2 separate regions of the Homo sapiens genome follow, and region 2 is linked to region 1. Evidence: promoter capture Hi-C in human tissues and cell types (Jung and others, 2019). All regions are on one chromosome and are shown on one strand. Each heading gives the region's core, a stretch centred on a gene start or on the middle of the fragment in contact. The rest is flanking DNA. Distances are from core to core; before and after follow the strand shown. Region 1 holds the start of RPS6KA1 (ribosomal protein S6 kinase A1). Region 2 holds the start of DHDDS-AS1 (DHDDS antisense RNA 1).

Region 1 (6,835 bases), core at 313-2,812:
CAGTGGGGGCTATCTCCGCTTACTGCAAGCTCCGCCTCCCGGGTTCACACCATTCTCCTGCCTAAGCCTCCCGAGTAGCTGGGACTACAGGTGCCTGCCACCACGCCCTACTAATTTTTTGTATTTTTAGTAGAGACAGGGTTTCATCATGTTAGCCAGGATGGTTTCAATCTCCTGACCTCGTGATCCGCCCGCCTCGGCCTCCCAGTGCTGGGATTACAGGTGTGACACTTTGATTTTTTTAAGCCCTAGTCTGTTCTCAACCTCTTGTGTGACCTTGGGTAAGTCACTTCATCTTTCCGAGCTTGTTTCAGGATTTGTAAACTAGGTGGTGGTAATCATTCAAGGAAATCACATGGCTCGCAGGAAGCTTTTGATAAACATTCCTTCCCATTCCCCTGCCTTAGAACAGCTTTGCAAATAACTGACCAGTCTTCCTGCGAAACCAGCAAGCTTGTCCCTCCAGCAAGCTCACTCCTCACATGTGAATACATCTCAGCACACCCGGACCCCTAAGGCTCTTTAGGTGGAGGCTGAATCTCTCTGGGGCAACCAGTCTCCCTGGCCTTTCACTCCAAGTCCCACCAAGCCTCGGTTCATCCTGGGAGCCTGGTCCCTCCTCAGAGAGTCGCAAACCCAAACTAGTCCAGAGCTGGGGCTGCAGGTGACTCCAGGGAGACCTGACCTGAAAGGACCCCCTTCAAGTGATAGGGCAGAGCACAGATTGCAAAAACGCATATTAAGAAATCACTCTTGGCCGGGCGCGGTGGCTCATGCCTGTAATCCCAGCACTTTGGGAGGCCGAGGCAGGAGGATCACTTGAGCCGGGGAGTCAGAGACCAGCCTAGGTAACAAAGCGAAACTTCGTGTCTCTCTCTCTCTCACTATATACACACATACATACATATATGTGCATATATATAATATTTATTTATACATATTTATTTATATATGTAATATTTATATACATTATGTAAAATCAATCGATCAATCAATCACTCTGTGGTGGCACTATGGGTCCTGATGGTGGTAACAACTGCTGATGCCCATCTTGGCCTGGGGCACTGAGATCGCCCGGAGATCACAGTGTTAGCTTCAGGGCGGGGTAGAAATTAGAGGATAGGGGATCTCTAGGGCCTGGTGAGTTGAGGGCCTAAGGGGAGTGGGTCTCAGGCTCCTTCCAAGCCTCAGCCTAGATCAGGCCCAGGAACCCAGTGTGAATGTGTGTGCTGGGGTCGGGGATAAGGTGCTTCTCTCCCGTTGGAAGGAGAAGGAACATCTGGGCTGGGATTCCAAAAGAGCTGAGCGGGGGAGAACGGTGGCCCTGGTGTGGTGTGTCCAGGGGTACACCACTGGAAGGGAAGGAGCCAGCAGGGCCTCTCCGGCGGAGCCGAGCGCGGGCCGGGGGCTCGCGGCAGGGGCGGGGCCGGCCCTCGGGGCGCGGCGGGGGCGGGGGTCCGCGCTGGGAATGCCGCGCCGCGGGGGCTGGGGCGGGGCTTCTCCGGCTCCGCCCCCGCGCAGGTAGCCAATGGGCGCGGCGGCGCCGGGTGACGGAGGGAGCCGAAGTGCTAGTGCCGCGGCGGCGGCGGCGGACGGCCCAGCCGGAGCGCGAGGGGCTCGGGGGGGCGCGGCGGTTCGGGTCGCAGAGCCAGGGACCCCAGGACCCGGGAGGCGGCGCAGCCGGGGCCGCCGGAGGAGCGCGGGTGACCTGGCGGCGGCGAGATGCCGCTCGCCCAGCTCAAGGAGCCCTGGCCGCTCATGGAGCTAGTGCCTCTGGACCCGGAGGTGAGTGAGCGGGGCGGGGGACGGGCGCCCGCGGCCGGCGAGCCCGGATCCTCACAGGGGCGGGGCGGCCCGAAGCGCCGCTGCAGTCCGGCGGGCGCCCGCGAGGGCGCGAGTGCCCTCCGATCTCTTGCCCACTGTCCGGCTCCACCCCCCTATGCCCGGGTGTGCGTGTGCGAGGGACAGTTCCGCCAAGCGCCGACTACCTCCCCGCCATAGCCAGGAGAGGGGATCCTATGGGGCGCTGAGATCTGGTCGCCTTCACCCCACACCTAGGACCCGTCCCGGCATCTGTCCAGAGCTGTCGGAGCTTCCTCCATTAATGCAGACGGGGAGATCTTCAGTGCCAGATGTCTGGGATTCTACCAGAGACAGGGGTTATGGGACCCCCACTTCTCCCAGGGCCCTCCGCCAAGAGCTCCCTGCTTCTGGCTTCACCGCTGCTGAGCCTAGAAGGATTGCTCCTCTTGACCCCTGGCGGATGCGGAGTGTGGGATGGCACCACCCGTCTGGGGCTGGAACTCCTGGTTTTCTTTGCCCTGAGGCTAGGGCCAGAGGACACCTGTGTGCCCTACCCCAGGCTGTGGAGACGAGAGTGGGGAAGAGCCCTTAGACCTTGTGAAGATGATTCCTGGCAGGGCGTGGGGGGACCTTGGTGCCTGCCTCCCTTCTTATGCCCCTTCCGGTAGGAAGGGCTGGGCCCTTGGGGAGTTTGGCTTCTGCCAGCCCAGACTCCCCAGACAACCCAGCTCCTTCTCTCTCAGAAGCAGCTCCTGACCTCCCTTGAGGGCTCTGTGGCTCCAGTCCCTAAGCGTGCAGAAGGCCACCTCTTCCTGTGCCTTTTGACCCCAGGGTCAAGGTCAAGCCCCTGAATGAGCTGGTGGAAAACTTCCTCCTTAACCTCTTGCTGGGAAGGAAGCAGGTGATATTCTCCTTCCCAGGTGGTTGTTGGGGGTATGCAGGGAGGGAATGGAGACCTCATTTGAGCCCAGGAGCTGAGATGACTTTCTCCCAGCTTGGGCCTGGAGCCCCTGTCTCAGTCCCCTCCTCTGCCCTCTCTTACCTAGGGCAGCCACCAAGTGTCCTGCCTCTCAGGACCACAGGCTTAGATCAGGGTGAGCACCCAGGGTCCCCAGCCCCCAGGGTGTGCTGCCCCTTTAAAGGGATGGCCGACACTGGCTATTGGAGGGTGGGCGCGGCAGGATTAGGTAACCAACCTGAAGGAGCAATTTGGAGTAAATTGCTCTGGGATTCCTGCCATGGGGATTTTACAGGCACTGCTAGGCTGCTCAGAGGTTCTCTCGCTGACTCACCCTCTGAGGTGAGGAACACTGCCCTCTGCAGCCCCTGTACTGCCACCCCGCTACTAGGACCGGGGCGCAAGGTCCTGGGGGTGGTGCTCAGAGGTGGATTCCTTTGCCCAGGCACGCCCCTGGGACCAGGCCTCCAAAGGAGAAGGTAGGGCTGGGAGAGGCTGGGGAGTGACTTTATGCTGATAGGGAGGGTGGACACCCAGGAGCTCGATCCTGGGGCACCACTTCCTGCTTCTCTTTAGGGAATCCTGAGGCAGGGGCCAGCTTCACCAGGGAGCCAGGTTTAACTGGGAAACTCATCTCAGTTTTGAGTTCTGTAACATCTCAGGTCTGTGAGAGGGGAAGACCAGCGGACTTCCTGGGATTGGTGGGGCAGGGGGACGCAATTTCCTCAGGAGCTTCGCTCCAGAAACGATGTGTGATCCTCAGTCAGTCCTCAGCCTGTCTGGGCCTCTGCTTCTCCAGTGGCAAGTGCTAGGTTCTAGCCTCCACTTCCTGGGCCTGAGAGGGTGCAGAGCGCTGGGTACTGTTGTCTGGTCCCCCCTCCCCCACTCCTGGAGGTGCCAGGCGACTGGGTGTTATTGTTTGGGTAACAGGAGCCACAGGGCAGCCACGGCGCAGGTTGGGCTGTTCTCACTGGAGAACAGGGCCTCGCTGTTCTTAGCCCAGGTGACATGTAAGCGATACAGCCGCCTGACCTGCACGTACAGGCACCACCACTGCTGGCAGCTCCTAGCCAGGAAGGAGGCAGGTGAGGGGCTGGTGGGGGACTTTTCACAGGGACCTAGGATCTGGACTGCCCTGCCCTCCCTTAATGCTGCTGAAAATGGGCCGCTGGGAGGCAGGGCCTGGCCCAGGGTGCAGCCCAGGTGGAGTAATCTATGGGAAGCGTGGGTGAGGATTCTGCCTGGGCCTCGCTTAGCCCTGTTGAAAGCAGTAGCCTTGTCCCCAGGCCCAGTTCTGCCACGTACAGAGCTTTACTATGTGCCACCCACTCTGCCTTACGAATGTCACCCCACTTTAATTCTCACAACAGCTTCTCAAGATAGGGATTATTACCCCTGTTTTCAGATGGGACAACTGAAAACTCAGGCTTATGTGTTAATATCAGAGCCAGGATTGGAACCAAGATCTCTCTCTTCCACCAAGTGGGAGAGAGGCTCAGGGATGGGGAAGGGCTGGAGCCACACTAGCCCAGGTGGAAGGTGCTCCAAGAGAGGCTCCGGATGTTGGCGGACTCTCCTTATCCTGCAAGGCCCTCGTCCAGTCTTTGCCGAGGGCTGGCAGTGCCAGCCAGCCCTGGCACCTGGCCCCCAGCCTCCAGCAGTGAGCAGGGCTGCCAATGCTGGGCTCAGAACCCAGCTCCTGGGGCTGCTTCCTGCCTGTGGGGCACGTGCTGTCCTTCTCCATCTGCTGCCCAGCTTCTCCAGACGCTGCCCTGGGCCCCTCTTTCTAAGACAGAGTTGCTTGGGTGGGAAGGAATGATGCCAGTTGGAACCCATTTCTGACATCTCAGAACTGGGGGCAGTGGTCTGGGGCCCTGGGCATCTGTCCTCATGAGCAGTGCTCTCTGAGGAAGAGGGAGGAGTGTGGGTCTTCAACCTCTAAGAGGCCAAAGGACTCCTAAGACAAAGTCCTTCATTCAGTACTCTGCAAGGTCAGCACCATTGTCCCCATTCAGTCATTTATTTAGCACTTAGGTGATAAGTACTATTTCAGACAACAAAGTGCAGATGTCAGCAAGACACACCTGCCCTCGTGATACAGATGAGGAAACTGAGACTTTATTACTATTATTATTTTTTGAGACATAGTCTTGCTCTGTCACCAGGCTGGAGTGCAGTGGCGTGATCTCGGCTCACTGCAACCTCCACCTCCCGGGTTCAAGTGATTCTCCTGCTTCAGCCTCCTGAGTAGCTGGGACTACAGGCCCGTGTCACCATGCCCAGCTAATTTTTGTATTTTTAGTAGAGTCAGGTTTTCACCATGTTGACCAGGATGGTCTCGATCTCTTGACCTCGTGATCCTCGTGATCTGTGAGGCCTCTTGGCCTCAGCCTCCCAAAGTGCTGGGATTACAGACATGAGCCACTGCGCCTGGCCGAAACTGAGACTTCAAAAAGTGATATGAGGCCACGCGTGGTGGCTCATGACTGTAATCCTAGCACTTTGGGAGCCTGAGGCGGGTGGATCACCTGAGGTCAGGAGTTTGAGACCAGCTGGGCCAACATGGCGAAACCCCGCCTCTACTAAAAATACAAAAATTAGCCAGGTGTGGTGGTGCGGCCTATATTCCCAGCTACTTGGGAGGCTGAGGCAGAAGAATTGCTTGAACCCAGCGGGGCAGAGGTTGCAGTGAGCTGAGATTGCGCCGCTGCACTCCAGCCTGGGCAAAAGAGTGAAACTGTCTCAAAAAATAAATAAAAATAAAAATAAAAAGTGATATGACAGACCCAAGGGCAGAATAAGTGGCTGGCAGAGCTAGGATTAGTGGCTGTATCTTTGTGGCTGCACAGCTGTGTTCTTTCAAGGATTGCTATGCAGCAGTCAGGCCAGAGGGGCAGATGACCCCGGACCCAGGACCCAGGCTCTGAGTGGGAAGCCAGCACCCCACAACCCCCCTGACCCCCCTACCAGTCTGTTCTCCAGGGCTGCCTGTTCCCTTACTCTTACAGGTTTGGCGTTCCATAAGAATGACACCCAAGCCAGAGATCCAGGGAGTAGAGGCAGCCAGACTGCCTTAGAGCGGGGGGTCCCTAAGTCATCCAGGCCACTGCTCAAGAAACCCACACCTCTAGGTACACCTACCCCTTCCTCCCCACCCTCAGTAGGCTTGCAGCCACGTGACTTTGGGTTATGGTCACATGTCTGCCACCTGCCTGCTGAGGGACCTCGGTGAGTCCCTTAACTCTCCTGAGCCTCATCTGAAAAATAGGAGTAATAGAACCTGCTCTGGCCTCCTTGCTGTCTTTGCTGGGTTGAACTTTCACTGGATAAACCACATGCTGGACTCTGGCTGGGTGCCAAGATGTTGATGATGGACAAGCCATGGCCCCTTCCCGAGTTAACCTGCAGCATGCTTAGGTTATGGGGGTAGAGAGGAGGGAGGAAAGAACATGAGGCTGTGTGGACAGGGGTGACATTTGAATTCAGTCCTGATAAAAGATCAGGAGTTTGCCAAAGTGACAAGGCAGGAAAGGCTTTCTTGGTAGAGGGAGCCACCATACAAATGCTGGGGATATAAAATAGACTGTTTTCAGGGTCTGTGGTTGTTCAGTTTAGCTCAAAAATAGGGCCCAATGATAAGAATGGCTATTGTTTGTAGGCCAGTTACATGTCAGGTGTATATATTTATAGGCATTATTTCATTTGCTTCTTGCCGCCACCATTGAGGTATGTTACTTTGATCCGCATTTCACAGATGAGGAAACTGAAGCCCCAGTAAATGAACTAACCTTCTAGGGGTCACGCAGGTGGTAGAAGCCAGAATTTGAACCCACAAGGTCAGGTTGCAAAACCTACATTCCTAGTTATTGTGCTGGGCAGTTGAAGATGATGGCCTTGATTTCTATGCTAAGGAGCTGGGACTTGATTCTACAGGCAGTGGAAGCCACAGAGGGGTTTGGGGCCTGGTACATAGAAGGTTCTCAGCAAATGTTGACTGAGTGAGTTGAGTGCAGCAGTTGCACTTGATTTTAGGAATGATGAGGGTTTGGAGTGGGGAAGGCTGTGGGGCAGGGA
Region 2 (7,034 bases), core at 1,122-3,621, 64 kb before region 1:
AAATGGAGTTTCGCTCTTGTTGCCCAGGCTGGAGTGCAATGGCGTGATCTCGGCTCACTGCAACCTCCGCCTCCCAGGTTCAAGCGATTCTCCTGCCTCAGCCTCCCAAGTGGCTGGGATTACAGGCATGTGCCACCACATCTGGCTAATTTTATATTTTTAGTAGAGATGGGGTTTCTCCATGTTGGTCAGGCTGGTCTCAAACCCCCGACCTCAGGTGATCTGCCCGCCTCGGCCTCCCAAAGTGCTGGGATTACAGGCGTGAACCACCGCGACCGGCCTGAAACTCTTGTTTCTTGTAGGCTAAAACAAATAAGTACAAATAATAATGTTATTAGGAACCAAGACACTTAGGTTGTGGCCATAGCAATTGGTTGTATAGTTCTGCTGTTTCCTGGGATGGGGTGGAAGGTGTTTGAGGTCAACTATTAAGTGTTCCATTTTTACCTATGGATCATATTTGCAAACTTTTTTTTTTTTTTTTTTTTTTTTGAGACGGAATCTCACTCTGTCGCTGGAGAACAGTGGCATGATCTCGGCTCACTGCAACCTCTGCCTCCCGGATTCAAGCAATTCTCCTGCCTCAGCCTCCCATGTAGCTGGGACTACAGGCACGTGCCACCACGCACAACTAATTTTTGTATTTTTAGTAGAGACAGGGTTTCACCATGTTGGCCAGGCTGGTCTCAAAATCCTGACCTCAGGTGATCCACCCACCTTGGCCTCCGAAAGTGCTAGGATTACAGGCATGAGCCGCTGCGCCCGGCCTATATTTGCAAACTTTTATTGAGTTCTTACCACATGTCAGGCATCCTTCCAGTATTGAGTTCTTACCACATGTCAGGCATCCTTTCAGTAAATTCTGTGAACTGCTTTAAGGCAGATACTATTATTATTGCCTCTGTTTTTAGAGCAAGGAATCCAAAGTTATAATAGAGATACTGATTATCTTGAAGCCTTCTCCAGCAGGAGCCCTTGGAGGTCCTGGCCAGGCTTTCTCTACCCCAGAAGCTTCAAAGCTCTGTTTCTAGAAATCATATCACCTTGGCAGATGCACTAAGGGGAGAATCCAGACTAACAGCATCCTCACCAGTTTGTTCTCAGACCAGAGAGGTCTTTCCAGGCTTTTCTCATGTCTCCCTTTTACAGACCCTGTATCATGGCCAAACTGGACTCTTCCCAGTTACCTGTTCCATGCCCTCCAGTTTCCTACCTGTATGTCTGTGCTCTTGCCCCATCACCCAAATTCCCATTTTAAAATCTGAGCTGCTCTGTCTCTAGGCCCTGCCCAATGTGTCCCTATTCTCTGCAGGAAGCCAGGGCAAGGGGCTAGGCTCTGGACCTAGAGTAGCTTACTGAGAGGAAGGCAGCGGGTGGATCGTAAGGGAAGCAGGGACTTGGCTACAAGTTGTGGGGAGCCAGACCTTGGTATCTGAATGGACCATGACAGTCTCCAGGTGGTCACCTAGCCAGTCTTAAAGGCTGGCAAAGGGAGATCTTGACTATGATGCAGTAGGACTTGTCAGCAAAGAGGCAGGGACAAATAGAGAATCAGGCCAGGGAGGGGGTGTGCGGCAGTGCAGAGCAGCTGATCCTCAATCACAAGTTGCATGGATGGTAGGTCCTTGAGAGGTCACTGATGGAGATGAGTAAAAAGTGTTCACCTCATCTCCAAGGATGATATTAGAGAGGGAAAAGACACATGTTCCCACGAAGCTTCCTGTAGTACATTTGTCACAATTTAAACGGGCTGGATTGAACATTATATTTCTTCTGCTCTTCAGGTTGTCACTATCTTCTCCTCAGGATAAAAGCTTGAGTTATGTATGTATGCATATATGTATGCATGTGGAAATGGGGTCTCGCCATGTTGCCCAGGCTGGTCTTGAGCAGCTGGGCTCAAGCGAGCCTCCCACCTTAGCCTAAAAGCTTGAGTTAATGTCTCAGACATTCATGACTTTGAATATTGGCACTGCCTACATAGCTATATGACTGTACAGTTACTTAACCCCTCAGAGTATCATTTTCCTCACCTGTAAAATGAGAGAAGTAGCGTTTACAGTAATACCTACCTTGCAGGTTTGTGATAGGGATTCAGTAAGCTAACACATGTCAAGTGCTGAGTGCAGTGGCTGGAACAGAGTTCATTTTCCAAGAATGGTGGCCAATATTGTTCCCCACATGTGTGTCTCTTGGCCTCTCCTCAGACTCCTCTCTGGAAAAGCACCCTGCACATCCTGTCCCCAGTACAACTCCCCAGGCAAGGAGACTCTGAGGGTGCTTCAGAACATCATGTTTCTGGTAGGAGGTGCCCTTCTCTGCCTGAGAGCAGCCCTCAGAAATGCATTCCTCATGCTGCTGACCTGGGCTGGCTGGTTGCAGCTTGGGGAAGGACTTTTCATTGGCTAATGTTTTGAAGCCAAGGACCTGCAGCCTCTCTCCAGGTGCCAACAGAGTGGTAGAGGACTTTTAGATTTAAGTACTGGAGGGACTATTACATCTTGTTCTCTGATTCTACCAAGGAGAGAATAAGAGCAGAGAGGGATAATGCCCAGGAGGAATTTAGATTCATAGGTTAGAACCACATTTCTCAAAGTGAGCTTCTTGGAGCCCTTGCACCAAGATTGGATAAGGTCTGTACAAAAAGTCTCTAAGGAAAGAATTAACGCCCTCACTTACCCTGATTGGTCATTATACAAGGATAGTAGACAAATGGTCAGGGAGAGAAAAGTTGACCTCTAGGACTTCTGTTAGCTTGGATTTCCCAAGGGTAAGTACTTGAGAAGAACTGGAAACACCTCTGAGATTGAAAGGGTAGATTCAGACCATGTGGAAGCTGGATAGACAGGTATCCAGATACAGGCCACCAGCTTTTCCACCCCTAGAAAGTAGAGCTTATACACAGGCACGAGATACACTTCACATTGTCCTCTCAAGAAGTTATCTTAGTGGAGAAGCCAAGGGAACTTCAGCCATCTCAGCCTCGCTGTCATTTTCTGTAAAATGACGAGCAGACACCCTCCCAACTCTGCTATCTGAACAATGAACTGCTAATTCCTGGCAGACAGGGGCCAGGCTCTGCCTGGGCTACAGCCCCCATTGCTGGCATGCACTCTGATGCCATCTGGAAGAAGCTTGCGCCTCATGAAGTGGCTTTAGCTAGCTCCATATTTCCTCCCTCTGTTGCTGAGCGTCCCCCATCCTTTCTGTTCTGCCAGAAACTTAGACTACTTAGCCCAGTCCACAAGTGGCGGTGATAGAACAGCTAACAGTTAATAGCCAAGCAGTAGGCTGAAAATTCATTATCTCATTTTTCCTCAAACAACCCAGTGAGGTGGGTACTCTTATCCCGGTTTTGCAGAGTAAGAGAGAGCCTTAGAGAGGTGAGGGAGGCCTTAGGAACTTCTCAAACCCCAGTGCTCCAGGTGGACTTACTCTGGCCTTAACAGGCTCTTCGGTTCCATGCATCTTTGCTCATTACTCCCACTGCCAGAATATTCTCCCTGCCCCCCACACACCTCACCTCTGTTTGAATCCTCCTCATTGGTTAAAGGGCCAGCTCAAATTCTGTCTGTCCATGAAGGTCACTGCTCCGTGATGTTCATCAGCCACACTTGCTTTCTCCTCTGAACTGCATGACCCTTACCACATCCTATTTTGCATCGTGGCACTCTGTGTGCATGGCTGTACAATCAGCCTGTAAGCACCTGGATTGCTGGGATCGTGTCCTGCGCATCTCCATATCCTCAAAAAAAATCCTGTATGTAGCACCCAGGGAGCCTCCTGACCAAGGCCTGGAAGAAGCCCTTCCAGCAAGACGGAGAGCTCTACGGCAACTGTTCAAGCCCGAAGTCCTCATAGCTCCACATGTAATTCATTGTAATAGCAGAAGAGAAGTATTCTTGAATGCCTGGGATTATTCAGGAGCCGGGGGGGACAGTCCAGAATTCTCATTTGTCATCCTTATTCATGCAGTAAACCTTTATTGCTGAGAGACAGCAAATCAGTTCCCTGCTCCATGTCTGTCTCCAGCAGAAAGTACCTCCCTCACAGCTCCATTGTGAGGGTCAAGTGAGGCAACAGATGAAGTGGTTGTGCACATGTAAGATATTCTTTAAACCATGAAGACAGAGCAGTCAAGGTGCTTACAGGCTGATTAGGACAAAAACATGTATACAAGTTTATCGTAATACAAGGTAGAATGTGGGAAGGGTCATCAGGGTATAGGATACCATAGGAAAATAGAGTTTCTCACACATGGAATAGGTTTGGCAGGAGGAGCTCTAGTGCAAAGGCTTTGCAGGTCAGTTAGACTGGCAGGAACAGAGAGGATCAGTGAGGCACAGGAAAGCCTTGGTTCTGCTCCAAAGGGATTTTCCGCTCTTCTGTATCAGGAGCATCCTCACTGCTCTCCTGGGATCACGTGGTCAGTCAGTTGAGTGTTTCACATGTACAGGGCACCCCAAGTGCTGGAGAGGAAGAAGCCCAGTCTCTGCCCTCTAGTACTTGGGATGATAACTGCTGCCAGGGAGTATGATCACCACCTGGTGTCAGAGCTGGTTGCAAGAGGCTTGAAGGCTCTCAAACTTCCAAGGGCTTATTTTCTAACAGAAAGAGTGGATTGTGAACACTAACACTTATTCTACTATGCAGAATGCAATAAGTGGCTTAAGAGAGTTGAACCTGCTTCTCAGAATGTTCATAGGGGGGTCATTTGCTGGAAGGATCAGGCTGGTCTTCATACAGGAGGCAAGTCTGGAGCTCTGAAAAATAGCCTAGGGAGTGGGGAGGATGGTACCCTCAGAGGAAAACCTGGGGAGATCAAAGGAAGTGACCCAAGGGACATGTCCCCGACAAGAATAGGACCTTTCTTGCAGCGGAGAATAGACAATAACAACTTGTAAAATTGCTGTTTCTGTCTAAGAGCCTGCTAATATCCTAGAGAGGATTTTGCATATGTTATCTCTAATCCTTAAAACCACTCTTCAAGGTAGGCACAACCCCCACTTTACAGATGAAGAAATGAGGTTAGGACAGGATTTGCCCAAAGACACAAAGCCAGTTGATGGGGGAATCAGAAGTCAGACCCACATTTGTTTGGTTCCAAGAGCATGAGAAAAACTTTAAGAAGTACAGACGCTTCCACACAAAACAAACCAAGATGGACCCAGAATTGCCACTGCCCTGCCTGTACAACATGAGCACCACCCACTGCATACCTACTCCCAAGCCTTTTCAAATCTGGTACCTACTTTCCACTGTTCCACTTCACTTGGCCCACCCTGTGCCCCACCCCCTACCTCCTCCATCCCAGTTTCACCCACTCCTAAAAATGATCTCCCCACCCCAATCCCCACTTTTCTCTAGCAGAAGGCCCGAGACATGTATGCAGAGGAGCGGAAGAGGCAGCAGCTGGAGAGGGACCAGGCTACAGTGACAGAGCAGCTGCTGCGAGAGGGGCTCCAAGCCAGTGGGGACGCCCAGCTCCGAAGGACACGCTTGCACAAACTCTCGGCCAGACGGGAAGAGCGAGTCCAAGGCTTCCTGCAGGCCTTGGAACTCAAGCGAGCTGACTGGCTGGCCCGTCTGGGCACTGCATCAGCCTGAATGAGGCTGGCCACCTGCCACTTTGCCCTGCCCTCTGCCTCCAGGGCTCCACTCCCCTTCCTTTTCTTGGTGAAAGGCACCTCCTTTCCTGATAATGAATGGTGTTCCCTTTGCTTGGCTGGGGAGCCCCCCAGGCCAGGTTTGCTGGCCATAGATACCTTTGGGCTGCCTGGGACAGGCTCCTGAGGAGGATTGAGGGTGAAAGTCTCCCACGAGTACACTAAACCTAGGTCTGGTCACCAATAGGGTTTGGAGAGCAAAGGGCCACAACTCATCAGCTGCCTGTCTCTTAGATGCACTTTCTTTTTCCACCAGCACATCCTTCAACACACAGAATTTCAGGGAAGAGTTCTCCCCAAAACCCTAGCTCTTTACCCTTCCATTTTAGCCTTCCACCCAGCTTCCACAAAAGATTTGGCTCTACCTTGGATCTGCTAGTAAATAACTAATAGGCAGGCAGTTATTTGGGTAAGGAAAAAAGGGGTGGGAGAGACAGAAAATTTGCCCATCTGCTGCTCCTCCCCCTTGGCTCTCCACCTGGGATTTGCTATTGAATCTCTACCCTCTCCCACCACACAGTACTGATTGCTCACTGAAAGACTCAGCACCCCCAATGGTGCGCGGAAGCCAGGCGGGCGATTACAATCCAATTACCTATTGTCGACTCAGCCCACACAAGCTTTTCTCCTCCTCTTGCAGGGCATGGGGCCAGGCTCCACTCCCAAATGAGACTGGCCCCCTCCATGGTTCAGGGTAACAGAAGGGCCTGTAGGCCCTGGTGAACTGAATCCAGCACAGGCCTCCCCTGTAACACAACAGGACTGAGCAGAACCAAACACTTCTTCCAACTGACTCTGCTCCCTGCCCTCACCATCTCAAACTCTGATTCCCACTCCACTCTTCGAGGTTTCTCTCAGCTTTTTGACCTGGCTCCCTAAGTAGGCCCTAGATGATTTATTCTTGGCATGGCAAAGCTTGTTCTAGGTCCTCTGCTTGTGAGGGTCAAAGCTGTGTCCTTTCCCTTACCTCCCTCTGCCAGGACTTGCTGCAGAGCTGCTGAGAGGATTAGTGCCTTTGAAGAGCTGTCTGCCTGAGCAACTCTATTTCAGGTGCCCCACACCGGCAAGTACCAGCCAGCAACACCAACCAAATGCTACTCTCTTTAAAGTCCATTTTCCTTCTTCTTTTTTTTTTTTTTTTTGGAGACAGCATCTCACCCTGTCCTGGCTGGTCTCGAACTCCTGACCTCAGGTGATCCGCCGGCCTCACCCTCCCAAAGTGCTGGGATTACAGGCATGAGCCACCATGCCAGACTTCCCATTTTACTTTCTGCAAGCTGTTTCCCTAGCAGCTCCCTCTAGGGGAGAGGTGAAATCTTGCAAGTTGTAGCAAGAGCACACAGGAAACCCCTAACTTTCCTATACCCC

Evidence for each region. The method cuts DNA at HindIII sites, captures the fragments that hold promoters and counts their contacts. A contact is called where the count stands out against the background at its distance.
Region 2: a fragment that was not itself captured here is called in contact with the fragment with the promoter of RPS6KA1 in region 1 in 8 of the 25 tissues and cell types used here (H1 embryonic stem cells, bladder, dorsolateral prefrontal cortex and 5 more).

What each region holds. Positions count from the first base shown.
Region 1 is chr1:26,528,199-26,535,033 of GRCh38, forward strand. It overlaps RPS6KA1 (ribosomal protein S6 kinase A1), which reads left to right and starts at 1,563. Exons shown (of 22, transcript NM_002953.4): 1 at 1,563-1,785. The coding sequence starts at 1,723. LOC124903884 (a long non-coding RNA gene) reads right to left here and starts at 3,200. Exons shown (of 2, transcript XR_007065558.1): 1 at 3,000-3,200; 2 at 922-2,363. RefSeq lists a silencer at 1,448-1,927 and enhancers at 2,169-3,079, 3,080-3,991. The HindIII fragment of the contact is 11,905 bases long and covers 1-6,835 here.
Region 2 is chr1:26,463,525-26,470,558 of GRCh38, forward strand. It overlaps DHDDS (dehydrodolichyl diphosphate synthase subunit), which reads left to right. Exons shown (of 9, transcript NM_205861.3): 9 at 5,371-7,034. The coding sequence ends at 5,607. It overlaps DHDDS-AS1 (DHDDS antisense RNA 1), which reads right to left and starts at 4,013. Exons shown (of 3, transcript NR_125953.1): 1 at 3,524-4,013. The HindIII fragment of the contact is 4,677 bases long and covers 34-4,710 here.